Linked DNA regions of Homo sapiens: region 2 is linked to region 1. Evidence: promoter capture Hi-C in 16 types of primary human blood cells and fetal thymus (Javierre and others, 2016). All regions are on one chromosome and are shown on one strand. Each heading gives the region's core, a stretch centred on a gene start or on the middle of the fragment in contact. The rest is flanking DNA. Distances are from core to core; before and after follow the strand shown. Region 1 holds the start of EPHX2 (epoxide hydrolase 2). Region 2 overlaps TRIM35 (tripartite motif containing 35).

The links. Contacts are between HindIII fragments. The CHiCAGO score rates a contact against its expected background, and 5 or more counts as called.
Region 2: a contact is called between a fragment that was not itself captured here and the fragment with the promoter of EPHX2 in region 1, in 1 of 17 cell types (monocytes). The highest score is 5.2, in monocytes.

Annotation. Positions count from the first base shown.
Region 1 is chr8:27,487,215-27,494,814 of GRCh38, forward strand. It overlaps EPHX2 (epoxide hydrolase 2), which reads left to right and starts at 3,929. Exons shown (of 19, transcript NM_001979.6): 1 at 3,929-4,095. The coding sequence starts at 3,995. RefSeq lists a cis regulatory region at 1,672-1,986 and a silencer at 3,733-4,012. The HindIII fragment of the contact is 2,149 bases long and covers 3,244-5,392 here.
Region 2 is chr8:27,297,783-27,305,382 of GRCh38, forward strand. TRIM35 (tripartite motif containing 35) reads right to left here. Exons shown (of 6, transcript NM_171982.5): 2 at 682-777. Among named protein-coding and RNA genes, the nearest start is that of TRIM35, 9.7 kb to the right of the region's middle. The HindIII fragment of the contact is 2,439 bases long and covers 1,551-3,989 here.

The sequences.
Region 1 (7,600 bases), core at 2,679-5,178:
ACTGTGAGAAGGTAGAACTCAAAACAGTAGTAGTTCTCAAACAGTGAGAACTATCAAAATAGAAGATGTTGAAAGGATGTTGTGTATCTCTGAAGCAGAACTTCATCACTGCCAGATGGAATTTTCTCTTCTTCTCTACTCTACTCTTCTCTTCTCTTCTCTTCTCTTCTCTTCTCTTCTCTTTTCTCTTCTCTTCTCTTCTCTTTTCTTTTCTTTCTTTTGACAGAGTCTTGCTCTGTTGCCCAGGCTGCGAGTGCAGTGGCATGATCTTGGCTTACTGCAACCTCTGCCTCCCGGGTTCAAGCAATTCTCCTGCTTCAGCTTCCCAAGTAGCTGGGATTACAGGTGTGTGCCACCACGCCCAGATAAGTTTCGTATTTTTAATAGAGACGGGGTTTCCCCATGTTGGCCAGGCTGGTCTCCAACTCTTAACCTCAGGTGATCCACCCACCTCAGCCTCCCAAAGTGCTGTGATTACAGGTGTGAGCCACCATGCCCGGCTGGAATTTTCTGTATGTAAGAAAAGGTTATAGATGTTAGGAAGCTGGAAAATGACAAATAAGAAAAACGGCAAGTAGCCACCACCACTATTCCCAATCTCATTCTTCTCACTGCTCCAGAAGCCACCAGCCACTACCATTTGAATTCATTATTCCACTAAAATGGAAGATCCTTGACGGCCCCTATATTTGTCTGATTTATTTAACAATTGATCCCAAGTGCCTAGAACAGTGCCTGGCACATAGAAGATGCTTGATACATATTTGCTGATGGAATGAAAGACGCTCGTTCATTTGCCGCATTGAAAAAAAGACAAAACTTCAAGTGGTTTGTAGGTTTAGAAAACTGCCAGAGGTAGCTTTACTTTGAACTCCATGAGTATCTACAGTAGAGAGAAGCAGCAGTGTAAAGTCCTCCCTCCCAACCCCTAGTGGTTAAACAGATTTTATAAAATAGGGTTTGACAATCAAGGACTAGCAGGAAGTTGCAGAAGGCACAGGAATGGCAGAAAACCCAAAATAAACCTTAATGAGGTCAGTGTACATTCATTATGAATTTAGTGATTGAAATCAGGTGTAATTTATAAATTTTCACTACTACATTAGCCATCTTTTATGATTCATGCTATCACCTAAAACATATTTCATAAATATTAAAATTAGAAGACATAGGGGTTAGGATTTACATTTCAAAAAGCCACCCAGTTCCCATAGCCCTGCTGGGTAAGCCCTTATCTCTCTGTACCTTAGTAGCAGAAAACACAGGAGAAGCACGACCATGAAAAAGGGCAAAGTGCAGTGAAATGCAATTGAGACCTTTAATCTTTGCCTAAGCAATTCAGCCAGAAAGCTCTGTAACTCACAAGGCATTATAAAAATATTCCACACCAGAGCTATTTACAAGTTAACTGCTCCTGAATAAATAAAAGTCCATGTGATAGCTTCATGGCTTTCTCTTAACCAAAGAGGAAAGTAAAACTCATATTTCTATGTTTTTAAATTTTTCTTCTCAAAAGGGGGCTTTATGAAATCTAGTTCTGTAGGTATGTCGTTCCTCTACACTTTACTGCTTGTATAAATATACTTACGTATTCATAAGCAATACTGTGCTAGATGCAGAATTCAGATGCAGGCAACAGAAATCACTGTAGTTATTTTAAATAGAAACAGAAGAAAGGGATTTAAGATGAGAGACTGCAAGCCTACACAATCTTTGAACGGAATGGAGGAGTGAGCTCCAGACTGAGCCTTTAGGAAGGACTCCCAGAAAACACCACCATAGAACTAGAAGCTGCTATCTCTGCCTCAATCAGCAGGCCACCGCTAGAAACACGAACATATGGTTTGGCTGGGAGCCAAGGATCTGGAAGCAACTCCGTGGTCTCGGGACTGAGCCACTGAGTCAATGGGGATGCCAGTTTGTAAGATAGGGAACACACTAGGAGGAACAGGCGTGGGAAGTAGAAATGCAGAGAGAGTTCTGTTTTAGCCATGATAAATTTGAGATGCCTGTTAGACACTCAAGAGAAGATGTTCAGTAAGAAGTTGGATATTGACGTTGAGTAAGATGTTGAGTAAGAAGTTGGCAAGTCTGGAGCCCAAAGGAAACTCTAAGTTGGAGATTTAATTTCTTTCTTTTTTTTTTTTGGAGGTAGAGTCTTGCTGTGTCACCCAGGCTGGATGGAGTGCAGTGGCACAATCATGGCTCACTGCAGCCTCCACTTCCTGGGCTAAAGTGATCGTCCCACCTCAGCCTCCTGAATAGCAGAGACTACTGGCATGCACCACCATGCCTAGCTAATATTTTATTTTTATTTTTTATAGAGAGAATGTCTTGCTTTGTTGCCCAGGCTTGTCTCAAACTCCTGGCCTCAAGCAATTCTCCCACCTCAGCCCCAAAGTGCTGGGATTACAGGTGTGTGCCACCATGCCCAATCTGGAGATTTAACAGGTTTCATACTATATAGGTCAGGCTGCAATTTTCTTTCTATTTTTTAAAATTCAATTATACCTTTGAGATCAACTAACTTCATGAGAAACTAGCTTGCTGTACTCCCTTCTCTGCCTATCTTTCAGTCTTCAAATCCAGAGTAATCCAGTTTCTACCATAAAGGGCCCACAAAAAGTGTTCTGAAACATCCGGTGTCATCCAAGTCCAAAATTGGACAGCTTTTTTTTCAGTTCTTCCTGTAACATTTGGCAGTGTTGGCCACTCTCTGCTTCTTTGGCAAGAATCTCAGAAAACACTAATAACTGCTCCAGGCAGGAGCCTGGAAGAGGTTACCAAGCTAGAGAAGGAAGCAACAGCATAGCTTGCTAAGGGCAAACAGCCCAGAGGAAACCCACGGCTCTGGTCAATCCTGTTGTTGATTGCTAGATCCAGAGACTGTTGTAGACCTCCCAGTTACAGTGAGGTATCTGACAACCCCTCACAAGGTTCTTGAAGCTCCGTGGTGGAGGGTATCTTGGATAAATCCACAGAGACACATTCAAGAGTAAATTCTCCACTGTTGGAGACCTCACTCACTCTGTTTGGTCTCCACCAAAGACACGGTTTTTAATTCATGGAGCTGCACTACAACAGCTCAAGAACTCCCAGCCAAAGTTTTAGTTTTTCTAGGAACATAAACGAGCCAATAGTGTGGAAATCGGTGATTAAAAACAAACCTCGCACATTTTAAGACAGAATTATTACAAGTAGCATGTACAAAAGGAAAATAATAGCCTACATTTAGTTCTTCTAAGCTTCATTCCACAAGAGATTGAAATCGAAGTATTCTGGGCTGGCACACGATAGCTGGAACATCATATTTTATTCTAGAAACACATTTGCCTTGGCAAAGAAGAGCGTGCCTAGAGGAGTGGTCAGGATAGTGAGGGATCTGTGATCCTTCGTTCTGAATCTAGAAAAGTCACTGGATATGCCCCTCCCCCGCCCCCCAACACGGTCTTATGTTCTGAATGTAGAAGTCACTGGATGTGCTGACACACACACACACACACACACACACACACACACACACACACACACACACACACAGAGTCTGTGGCCTCTTTCCCAGGCATTCCAAGTCCAGCAAGTTCGCAGGGAGCTGTCAGTCCGTCCAGGAAGGCCCGGGCCTGGGTTTGCCTCTTCAAGCAGCTACTGCAGGGGCGTGGGGAGGGGGCATAAGAGACTTTGGACTTTCCTTTGAGACAGTAGAAAGCGTTACATCCAGAGGCGAGATTCTAGCCTGGGGTCCCCGCCTTCCCGGCCTCCTCTTCCTCTCCCTCTGACTCCCTTTCCTGTGCCCCTCCCCCTGCCTCTTTCCCGGCCAGAGTCCAGCCTTAACCCGGGCAGAGGGCGGAGTCCCGTTAAGGGGGTGTGGGGAGGAGGCGGGGCCAGGGCAGGGGCGGGGCAGAGCCGGGCCAAGCTGGGCGGGTCATGCGCCCTGGCCTTCGCGCATCTCCCAGGTTAGCTGCGTGTCCGGGTGCTAGGCTGCAGACCCGCCGCCATGACGCTGCGCGCGGCCGTCTTCGACCTTGACGGGGTGCTGGCGCTGCCAGCGGTGTTCGGCGTCCTCGGCCGCACGGAGGAGGCCCTGGCGCTGCCCAGGTAAGGGGGCCCAGCGCCGCCGCCGCAGTGGGTCGGGGCCTCAGGAGGCAGACCGCGCTGGGCTTGCAGCCCAGCTTTCAGATTGCTCCTGTGCCGGAGCCCTGCGAATCATGCGAATCATGAAACTGAAGACCTGGCCCTGAAGTCCCAGTGCATATGAGGAGATCCGTTGTCTTTCTAAATGTTCATAATTAAACGTTGCCAAGGTCTCCAAAATTGCTTTCTGTGAACTTTTCCAAAAGGGAGAGGAGTTACTCATGGAGCTTTGTGCTTCTGCTGCCTCCTGTCTAATGGGGTGGCGCTTAAAGATGCGAGCCGAGATTCAGGAGAGAAGAAAGTTCTCTCCCCAGGTGTGGGTTGCATGCTTACTTGTGTAATAGCAAACTGCAGCAACCGCCCAAAGCCACATCACTGGGAAATGGTAGATGGGGTGTGCAGAGTGAGAGCTCAGGGACTTGGGAAAACACCTGTTCTACTACATGAAAAAACCACCCCACCAGAATCTGAAGCTATTTATACAATATGGTTTCAGCTATGGAAAAAAGGTACATGCAGAAAAGTGCCTGAAAGAAATAGGCCAAAGTACATCAAATGAGATTAGGAATAATGTAATGATTTTCTTTCTCTCTCTCTTTTTTTTGTGTTTTTTTTTTTTGTAGTTTCCAACTTCTAAATTTATAAACAATGTATTATTCCCACATTCAGAAAGGAGAGAAGTATACTTATTTATAAAGTGAAAAAGAAGGCCAGGCATGGAAGCCATTGTTCATATCCTCCTTTTACATATGAGGAAACTGAGGCACAGAAAGAAACCAGCTGTCCAAATCACATAGCTGTTAAAGAGCAGAGCCAGAAATCCAACCCCAGTAGTCCATGTCCGGAGCCTTTGCTTTTAATATAGTAAGGAAGATGAGATGGCAAGTAGCTTGAGGGAAAGGCATGTAATCTCTGTGCTTTGGGAAGCTAAGGTGGGAGGATCACTTGAGGCTGAGAGTTCAAGACCAGCCTGGGTGAAAGAGCAAGACCCTGTCTCTCCAAAAATAAAAATAAAATTAGCTAGACATTAGTGCATGCATGTAGCCCCAGCTACTTGGGAGGCTAAGGCAGAAGGATTGCCTGAGCCCAGGAGTTGGAGGCTATAGTTGTGTCCAGAGTTGGTTCCTGTCGGTGGGTTCGTGGTCTTGCTGACTTCAAGAATGGAGCTGTGGACCTTCGCAGTGAGTGTTACACTCGTAAAGATGGCGCAGACCCAAAGAGTGAGTGATAGCAAGGTTTATCGTGAACAGCGAAAGCACAAAGCTTCCACAGCATGGAAGGGGACCCCAGCAGGTTGCCGCTACTGGCTGGGGTGGCCAGCTTTTATTCCCTTATTGTCCTCTCCCATGTTCCATTTCTGTCCTATCAGAGTGCCCTTTTTTCAATCCTCCCCGTGATTGGCTACTTTTAGAATGCTGCTGATTGTGCGTTTTACAGAGCGCTGATTGGTGCATTTTACAATTCTCTTGTAAGACAGGAAAGTTCCCCAAGTCCCCACTCGACCTAGGAAGTCCAGCTGGCCTCACCTCTCAATCCTCCCTCATAACAGGACACCCCACCTGCTACTGGGAACTGGGTGATGACCACTCTAGCTACTTCCTGCTGGATAGGGGCAAAGAAGGGGCCCTGCCGTTGTAGTGTCCTCCAGAGGGGAACTCTCTAGGCCAGTCAAAGGGCCAGTGGGTCAGTCTAGCAGTCCTCGGTAGAAGTTGTGAGTTAAGCTCATTTGGGGTTCCATTTGTAAGACCATCTGTAGCTTGATGGCCTTGATCCTGGAGGAAACAAATTTGAGGAGGAGGTTAAAAATACAGGGACTGAAGGTGAGTAATAGCAAGATGGCTGTCACGGGACCTAGAAAGGGGAGAAGCCAAGTCACCCAACTCCAGAGGTTGGTATAAGAATTTGAAAGGTGTTGTCTGGTTTCAGAAGCCTTTTCCTGTAAATGCCAGGCAGCATCCTGTACTATCCCTGACTGGTTAGTTTAAAAACAACACTCCTCCCCTAAGAAGGTGCAAAGTCCTCCTTTCTCAGCAGTGAGGAGGTCTAGACCTTAGCGGTTTTGGAGAGTCACTGTTGCCAAATAGTCTATTTGGGATTGTAGAGTAAGGATAGATTTATTTATTGCAAACTGTCTGAGAAATCCTTTGAGAGTGTATGGTAGTAGGATAATGAAGTAGTTAAACTGGCTATTCTGGTTCCTGTAGCAGTGGGCATTCCTAGCCCTATAAGTAGGGGTATTAGTTGTATGGTCCTGGGCTGACAGACTTGAGCTTTGAGGGGCACTGATAGGGTCTGATTTCCTGTGGCATTGTTAGTGTTGGGACTTAGGAGAAGGTGCAGGTGCCTGTCCAGCTGGTGGGAGGCAGATATAGGTTGAAGTTCCACATAAGAAGAATATGCCTTGGCTGGGTAGAATAAACTGGTTGTGTATGTTAAAAAGGTGTGTGAGTTTGTTTTCATTTTCCCACACTCCTAGAGTACTTGCCAAGGTAGCTCTGGTGAGCAGCTGGAAAGGGTGTTGGGAGCAGACTGAGTGGCTCCCTGTGCTCTATTTTCCCATTGGAGAAAAAACCGTTTTGTATCTACTAGGAACCATCCAAGAGAGTAATTGAAAGAGGGGATAAGAAGACATACACTAGTGGTGGGGGCGCTGCTGCAGGGGGTCCAGGGGTGAATGGTCATGCAGGGAGTATGTTTGCCATTACAAAACCCAGACTGTTTGTTAAACAGGGAGGAGGTGATGATTTTGGGGGGCCCTGAGAAGCAGACAAGCCATCTGAATGGAGGTGTTTGGGTGACTCAGGAGTTACTATGATCAGTTGGGGCTTGAAGTTATAGGGTGTAATTACACTGATGGGATAGTAGGTGCCCCAGGGGCAGGCCTGATAACAGGTTGTGTTGGATGCATAAAAGGGCTTGGAAAGTTAAGATGGTATTCGGTATTCGTGGTCACAAGGTCTTGTATGGGCTTTTCCTGAGGATTGTGGCCTCCAGGCACAGTGAAGGTGATATTGTATCTCTAGTGCCCTGGAAACTCCCTGAGTTACCATGGCTTTAAAAGCCAGACCATTGTCACTTTGTAAGCTTTGGGGAAGCCCAAATCTAGGAATTACTTCATGAATTAGGACTTTAACCACTTCTTGAGCCTTCTCTGTCTTGCAGGACAAGGCTTCATCCAATTTGCAAAGGTATCAACACAGACCAACAAGTATTGAAATCCCCTTGACTTAGGCATATGGGCGAAGTCTAACTGCCAGTCTTCTCCTAGATAGTGCCCTATTCTTTGTTCCCCCAGAGGGGCCTTATGATGGACCAAGGGATTATTCCTTTGGCACACCTCACAGGCTTTGACTACTTGTTGGATGGTCTGAAGGAGATTTGGCCCTGTAAATAGGGATTTGGCCATTTGATGAGTGTTCTCAATACCCATATGAAAAGTTTGGTGGAGGGTCTTAAGTATTTTCCACTG
Region 2 (7,600 bases), core at 1,520-4,019, 190 kb before region 1:
TTTGCTTAAGGGACAGAAAGAAGGTGAGGCAGAGAAGTAAATGAGGTTGAGGATAGGCAGGGTCAGGAGATGGCCTTGGAGGCCATGGTAAGGAATCTGGGTGGTACTGAGGGTGACTGGAAGCCACTGGCAGTTTTAAGCAGAGGAGGGGCACGGCTGGTGTTTTTTTCTAAACGATCACCCCAGTCCATGGAAAGGAGAATGCACAAGAATGAAAGCATGAGGCCCTAGGCAGGAGGCCCAGTGAGAGATGATGATGACCTGGACCAAAAGGTGGAGGGTTTTACAGAAATAACATACTTTGGAGATAGGGGAATAGGATTGCTGATGGAGTGGATGTGGGAACTGAAAGAAAACAAGAAAGTACATGAGTCCCAGGTCATCATTGAACACACAGGTGGCAGTGATATGATGCATGTGCCATAGTGCAGATGGTGTTGGTAGCTTTTTAAGTCACTCCTGTGGCTGCTGGCATGACCACGCCTGGGTCTTTAGAGGGGCCAAGGCAGAGAAGCCACAGTCAGCATCCAGGACGTGGCTGCACAGGACCATCAGAGGTAAGGCAGCCGACCTCTACCCAGCGGGTTATGTGAGCCAAAGCCACGGCTGACACATCTTCACTCCTCCCCAGACTGCCCTGAGTGGACCCAATCTTCCCACTTGGCCCCATCGTTCGCTCACCTGATTGTGCTTGGCGATGGCCTCATAGGAGCGCCGCATGGCCCAGAAGGCCTTGGCCTTCTCCCGCAGTGCATGCTCCATGTTCCTGCACTTGGCCTGACATGGGAATGAGAGAGAGGGAGGAAGACAGGTTAGGGCTGGAGGCTGGGCAGAGAGGGCAGACACATCACATTTACAACTGGGACTCCACTTCAACACAAGTGTAACTCAACTGCATTTGCCTAACCCCATCCATGCCAAGTGCTCTGGGCACAAATGGTAAGTAAGGTCCTGATCCTGAATCAGACATCCATGGGATAAAGAGCCCTCAGACATCCTGTAGCCCAGCCTGGTACAGACTGGGAGATGGGGCTGAGAAGAAGCAAGCTGCTCTCTCTCATGTTGGTCACAGCACAGGCCAGAAGAGTGTCCCATGTGGGCCAAAAGCTGGTTCATGCTGGGTCTGAATCCCTGAGCTGTGTGGACAACTGCAGACAGTGTGGTCATAGGTTCCCTCTGCAGTTTCCTAAACTGAATGGGTCTGCAATCTCTAATGTGAGGTGACTGACAATGGGGGTGGAGCCAGTCATTTCCCACGGGGTTCAGTTACCTCCCATGAGGCCTCACCTCAACATGCCCAACATGCCCCTCCATACCCCTCCTGCATCCTGACATTCTAACACTGCTTGTATCGCACGGAATACTTTAATCAGCAGGCACAAATACTTTTGGTTTAGTAGTTTTTGTTTCTTAAACTTTAATGATTGTTTCTGATGTCCTTGGACAACTTGAAGAACCACTAGAGTGTTTTAGGTTGGATTCCTGCCTCTTGTATCTTAGGCCTATCATTTTTTCTCCCTCATTATCCTTTTCGATCTACATTCTCAGAAAGCTTCTCAAGTTTTTTCTTAAGAAAAATAATTCAAATAATTATAAATGGTTATCATTTATTCAGTACTTACTCTGTGCCAGGGACAACACCAATTACTTGAGAAATTATGTCATTTAATCATTACTTCTCCCTAGTAGATAAGTAATATTATTGGCCCCATTTATAGATGAGAAAGTGAGGCACAGAAGGGAAATGACCAGCCCAAGGGCACACAGCTAGTATGTGGAAGGACGTGAACCTGGACAGCTATGGAGGCAGCTGCTGAGACAGCACCCAGTGATCCCTCCCTCCTGTGAGATGAGAGTGTTTTAAGCTGCTAAATGTCGGGGTGACTGGATATGCAGCAATAAATTATACAGATGTGTCGCCCAAAGCCTCATTCCCATCTGGACCTGATTTAGATGACAAATCTGGACTTTGGGCTGATGCTGTAAAGGGATGAGATGTTTGGAGAGCTTGGGAGAGGGCCAGTGCATTTTGCATGTGGGAGGGACATGACTCCTTATGGGGCAAAGGACAGATTCAGGCAGGCAGCCTCTAAAGTGGCCCCAGTGACCCTCACCTCCTGATACTCATGCTCTTGTGAAATCCCCTCCTCTGTGGGTGACTTGTTTCTAACCAAAAGAATGTGGCAAGTGATACTAAGTCACCTCTGAGGTTAGGCGACAAAGGCTGTGTACACCCTGCCTTCCTCTCTCTAGCTTGCTCACTGGGATGGTAGCCAGCTGCCCATGTGGTAATTTGCCCTGGGAGTGACTGCTGGGGCAAGAAACTGAGAGTGGCTTCTGACCTACAGCCAGTGAGGGACTCAGGCTCTCAGGCTAACAGCCCGTGAAGACCTGAATCCTGCCAACAACTACAAATGTGAGTGTAAATAAGGATCCTGCCCTAGCTGAGCCTTCAGATGAGACCACAGCTCCATACCTACAGCCCCTCATGACAGACCTTGAGGCAGAGGCACCCAGAGCTAAGGCAGGCCCAATTCCTGACCCACAGAAACTCAAAGATAATAAATGTTTGTTTTAAGGCACTAAGTTTTGGGCAATTTGCTAGGAAATAGAGAACTAGCCCATTGGTTAGAACTAGCCCACAGAACCCTGACTGCAGCCCCTCATGAGACACCTTGAGGCAGAGGCACCCAGAGCTAAGGCAGGCCCAATTCCTGACCCAAAGAAACTCAAAGATAATTAATGTTTGTTTTAAGGCACTAAGTTTTGGGGCAATTTGCTAGGAAATAGAGAACTAGCCCATTTGTCCCACTCAGTAGCCCATTCCTTTAAGTCTTTCACTACAGAAAACAAAATGGTTACTGATTTCATTTTCTGCAGTTCTGTTTTATTTTCAACTCATTTTGATCTTTTAATCTTAAGTGACAATATTTAAGATTTTTAAACTTTGTTTTCTGTAGTATATCATCTCTAATTTGCATGAGTGCCCCCACAAAACCACTGAAATGTCATTCCAATGTTTTATTTTATAGAATGAGATTTTTGATACAAAATCATGTAATACAGTTCAAAAGGAAAATTTAGTGATTTGCCAAATTAGTTAAGTGACAGGAGTGAAGCAGCTGTCCATACGCATTACCCAAAGGTGTGCAGGCCCCAAAACAACACAGTTCAGCCCCTGCCCTTCAACCCTGGCCCTTAGGAATTTATGGGACAATAAGGATGGGAAGGGGATAGTCCCTTGATCTTCTCAAACTTTTCAATCACTTGGAGAGTTCTGGTTTCCTTCAGAAAAGACCAATCCTAAAATGGCCCTTCTCTGAGATGTCAGCTGATGAGACTAACCAACAATTATATTACTATTGCTAGCAAGCAGTTACTATTAAGCATGTACTAGACACAAGGCACTAAATTATGCACTTTACAAACATTCTATTTAATTCAATTATTTAATTCGAATTCTCCCTATAAGGTTAAGCACTGTGAGTCCCATTATACAGAGGATCAAGTTAGACCCAGAGGAGGTAACCTTCTTGTACATGTCTCCTGGGGACACATGGGAACTCGTTTCTTCATAATATATTCCTGGGGATAAAACTGCTGGGCCACCATATGTGTCTTCACTTTACTGCGTAATGCCAAATTGTTTTCCAAAGCAGTGGTACCAATTTTTACAGCAAGAGCAATGTTAATAGAAAATGTTTATTGACCACTTCAATGTTTATTTTTAAGTACTCAGTAAAGTATTGTCCATTTTTCCATTGCGTTGCCTGCCATTTTCCTAACTGGTTTGTGGGAATTTATTATATATACACAATGTATGTCCTTGATTAGTTAGAGGTGTAATGAATATTTTCTACTTCATCATTTATCTTTCTTAATTGAAATATGGCCAAATTTATTAGTCTTTTCCTTTAGGATTAGTATACTAGTTTTAAGAAACACCTCCCTACACTGAGATCACAAAAACAATCGTATTATTTCCTCAAAGCTTTATAGCTTTGCATTATTATTGTATAGCTCTGTAGTATTTTCTCAAAGCTTTATAGCTTTCCTTTCACATTTAGGTCTGATGTGGATACCTGGAGTTTATTTTTGCACATGGTGTGACCAGGTAGCTCATTGTCTCAGCACCATTATTTAAAAAGACCATTACTGCCCACTGGTCTGCAGAGCCACCTCTGTCTTAAATCAGACACAGATCTGTTTTTTGGTTCTCTCCATCTGTTTCTCTGGCCCATCTGTTTATCCTTGTGCCAACATCACACAGCCATAATTTCTATAGCTGTAAAAAAGAGAGGATTTCTGATAGGTTTCTCTTCAAGAATGTCTTGGCAATTTTTGGCCCTTTGAGGGTCATATAAATTTTAGAATCTGTGAAGTTGCATAAAAATAATCATGTTGAGATTTAGATTAGTACAATATTGTCTCTATAGATCAATTTGGGGAAAACTGAAAGGCTTAAATACTGACTTTACTAATCCACGAACATAATATATCACACCAGTTACTTAATGTTCTTTGATAGCTCTCAACGAAGTATATTTTTCCCTATCAGAGTTTTGCGTATCTTTTATTAATTTCTTCCTAGTTATCTTATTTTTTATATTATTGTAAACATATTTTTAAATTAAAAAAACCCAAAACAGGGTCCCCCTCTGTCACCCAGGCTGCAGTGCAGTAGTAGCACAATCATAGCTCACTGCAGCCTCCTGTGCTCAAGTGATCCTCCCACCACCTCAGCCTCCCAAGTAGCTGGGACTACAAGCATGCACCACCACACCTGGCTAATTTGTTTTAACTTTTTGTAGAGACAGGCTGGACTATGTTGTGCAAGCTGGTCTGAAACTCCTTGGCTCAAACGATCCTCCTGCCTCAGCCTCCCAAAGTGCTGGGATTACAGGTGTAAAACTCCCTGCCTATATTTTATTTTCTATTTGCTAGTGATACATAGAAATACAACTGGTTTTGCATCTTGATTTTGGATTCAGCATTCACCTAAACTTATTAATACTTATGATTTAACTGTAGAATCTTTATTTTCTACACATAGAAATCTCAGTGCAAAAATATGCAACCATATTATCTACACATGCCAGTTTTGCTTCCCTTCTTTCCAAACCTTACATCTTTTATTTATAATTATTGGCTTACTTCATTGACAAGGCTATCCCACACAAAACTGAATAGAGTTGGTCATAATGCGCATTCCTGTCTTTTTCTTGATCTCAATAAGAAAGCTTTCAATGTTTTGCCATTAAATGTGATATTTGCTGTAAGTTTTTTTGCTAGATATACTTAATCAAACTAATGAAATTCCTTCCATTTCTAGTTTCCTGTTTTTTTAAACACAAAAAGATGGTAAATTTTATCAAATGTTTTCTCACTGAGATAATTATATTAAGCAACACAGAATTAGGTTTCGTTTTCTTATCCAGTCAGATCAACATTTTCATTTAACTGGAGTATTTAACACATAATTACCGATATGTTTGCATTTAAATCTGCCACCTTGTTCTGAGCTATTTGTCTTGCTTATTCTATTTTTCTTTTTCTTCCTTTCCTTTTTTAAAATTTACTACACATTTTTTATTCCATTTTCCCCTTCTGTGCATCTAGTGGTTCACCTAGGAAATATGACATGTAAGAAGTGTGAATTTGAATGCATCTAAACAATATTATTTTGTTTGCTTTTGGTATTAATTTTAACCCTAAATATGCTTAGATTACAAATAGAACTACCACTCAAGGGGCCTGCCTGTAGCCCAAGGAGCACATGAATGAGCAGAGATGGGCAGTAGCAGGGGCCCACAACAGATCTGGAGCATCCCCCAGCCCAAGCTCAGGAGAGCAAACAAGCTTCGATGTTAGCATCACATTATAACATTAAGATTTTTTATTTATTTATTTTATATTTTTTACTTTTTTGAGATAGAGTCTCATTCTTCTTGTCCAGGCTAGAGTGCAGTGGCGCAATCTCGGCTCACTGCAACCTCTGTCTCCCAGATTCAAGCAATTCTCTTGCCTCAGCCTCCCAAGTAGCTAGGATTACAAGTGCCTGCCGCCATGCCCAACTAATTTTTGTATTTTTAGTAGAGACAGGGTTTCACCATGTTGGCCAGGCTGGTCTTGAACTCCTGATCTCAGGTGATCCGCCCGCCTCGGCATCCCAAAATGCTGGGATTACAGGCATGAGCCACCGCGTCCAGCCTACGTTAAAGATTAGTTATAAACACACACAAAATAGGTTTTTATTCATACTAAAGGATCCAGAATGTGATCATATAGACTACATGATTTCCCAAAAATGACAAGTTGATTCCTTAAGCAACAAATTTCAATTGCATATTGAAGATCTTAAGCACTTTACAAAATCACGTTACCCACAATTTTCATTAACAGGACAGGTGCTCTGTGGTATAGCTGGAAGCAGGAAGGTAGGGGCAAGGGAAAGAATGAATTTCATTGCACAAGGTCTTCATAGCCTCTTTGCAAGGACTTACCAAAGTGCTAGAGTTGCATGTGAAACCAGCTCTGTCTGGCCTGAGCCAGGTTTTCTGTCTTGTGAGACTTGATACACACTGTTGCTCTGCCTGGTTCCCACCTGCTTCCCCCAACTAACCCAACATCACCTTGAAAACTCGGCTCTAGTACCCCTCATTTCCTCCAGGAAGCCCCCCGATCTTGCCAGCTCAGGTTCCATTCCAGGGCATCACAGCACCCTGGCCACCTCTGTCTCAGCACTCACTATCCAGGGTAATAGCTTCTCTTTCCTGAGGGCAGGTCTTAACCTCCAGGTCCTCTCTACCTTGCATAGTGGTGCTCGGTACACTTCTGCAGAAGGAATGCTTGCTCTGCAAGGTGAGAGACTTTGTTTTGTCCCCTGCATGTCCAAGTCCCTGCACAAAGTAGATGTTCAGTTAACCACCTGCCCAGTCAATGAGTACATGGAATGCCTGTGTTTTTTCTGCTATATACCTTGCCTCCTGGACTGAAGGTTAGGAGAGCTGGTTTGGAGCCTTGTCTTTGTCACTATCCACTGGTGAGTTGGTAAAAAGTTCCTTCTCTCTTCGGCTATCAGGCTCCTCACCTTAAAAATGAAAGCAGAGAAGTCTCTACAGTCTCCCAAATTTCACGATTTGTTTTCAGGCAGATTGATGTAGCAGCCAAGAGTTCTGGCACCTGGCCGACCAGGTTCAAATCCCAGCACCTCTACCTAGTAGCAGGTGATCTTGAACATGTTCCTTCACTTCTCTGCACCTCCATTTCCTCATCTGGATAAGAGGGATAAAAAATACTACCAAGCTCAAAGGACTGCTGTGAGGACTCCACAAATCAATCCCTATAAGATGCTTACATGAGAGTGGCAGGCACATGCTGTGCATTCGGCATAGCTCTTAAGTGCCACCTACATGCCAGGTAACCTAACTGTCCTGCTGGATATGGTCCAGGTTTCTTAAATGAACAGTAAAAATGCATGGAGCTTTCTTATGCAACTCCAAATCAGTCTCCCAGATCTGTCTTTCCCCTTTGTGTTCAGACCTCCTTCCAAAGCAAGTGTCTGCCATGCAGCCCACTGCTGGAGGCCATCACTCAGGAG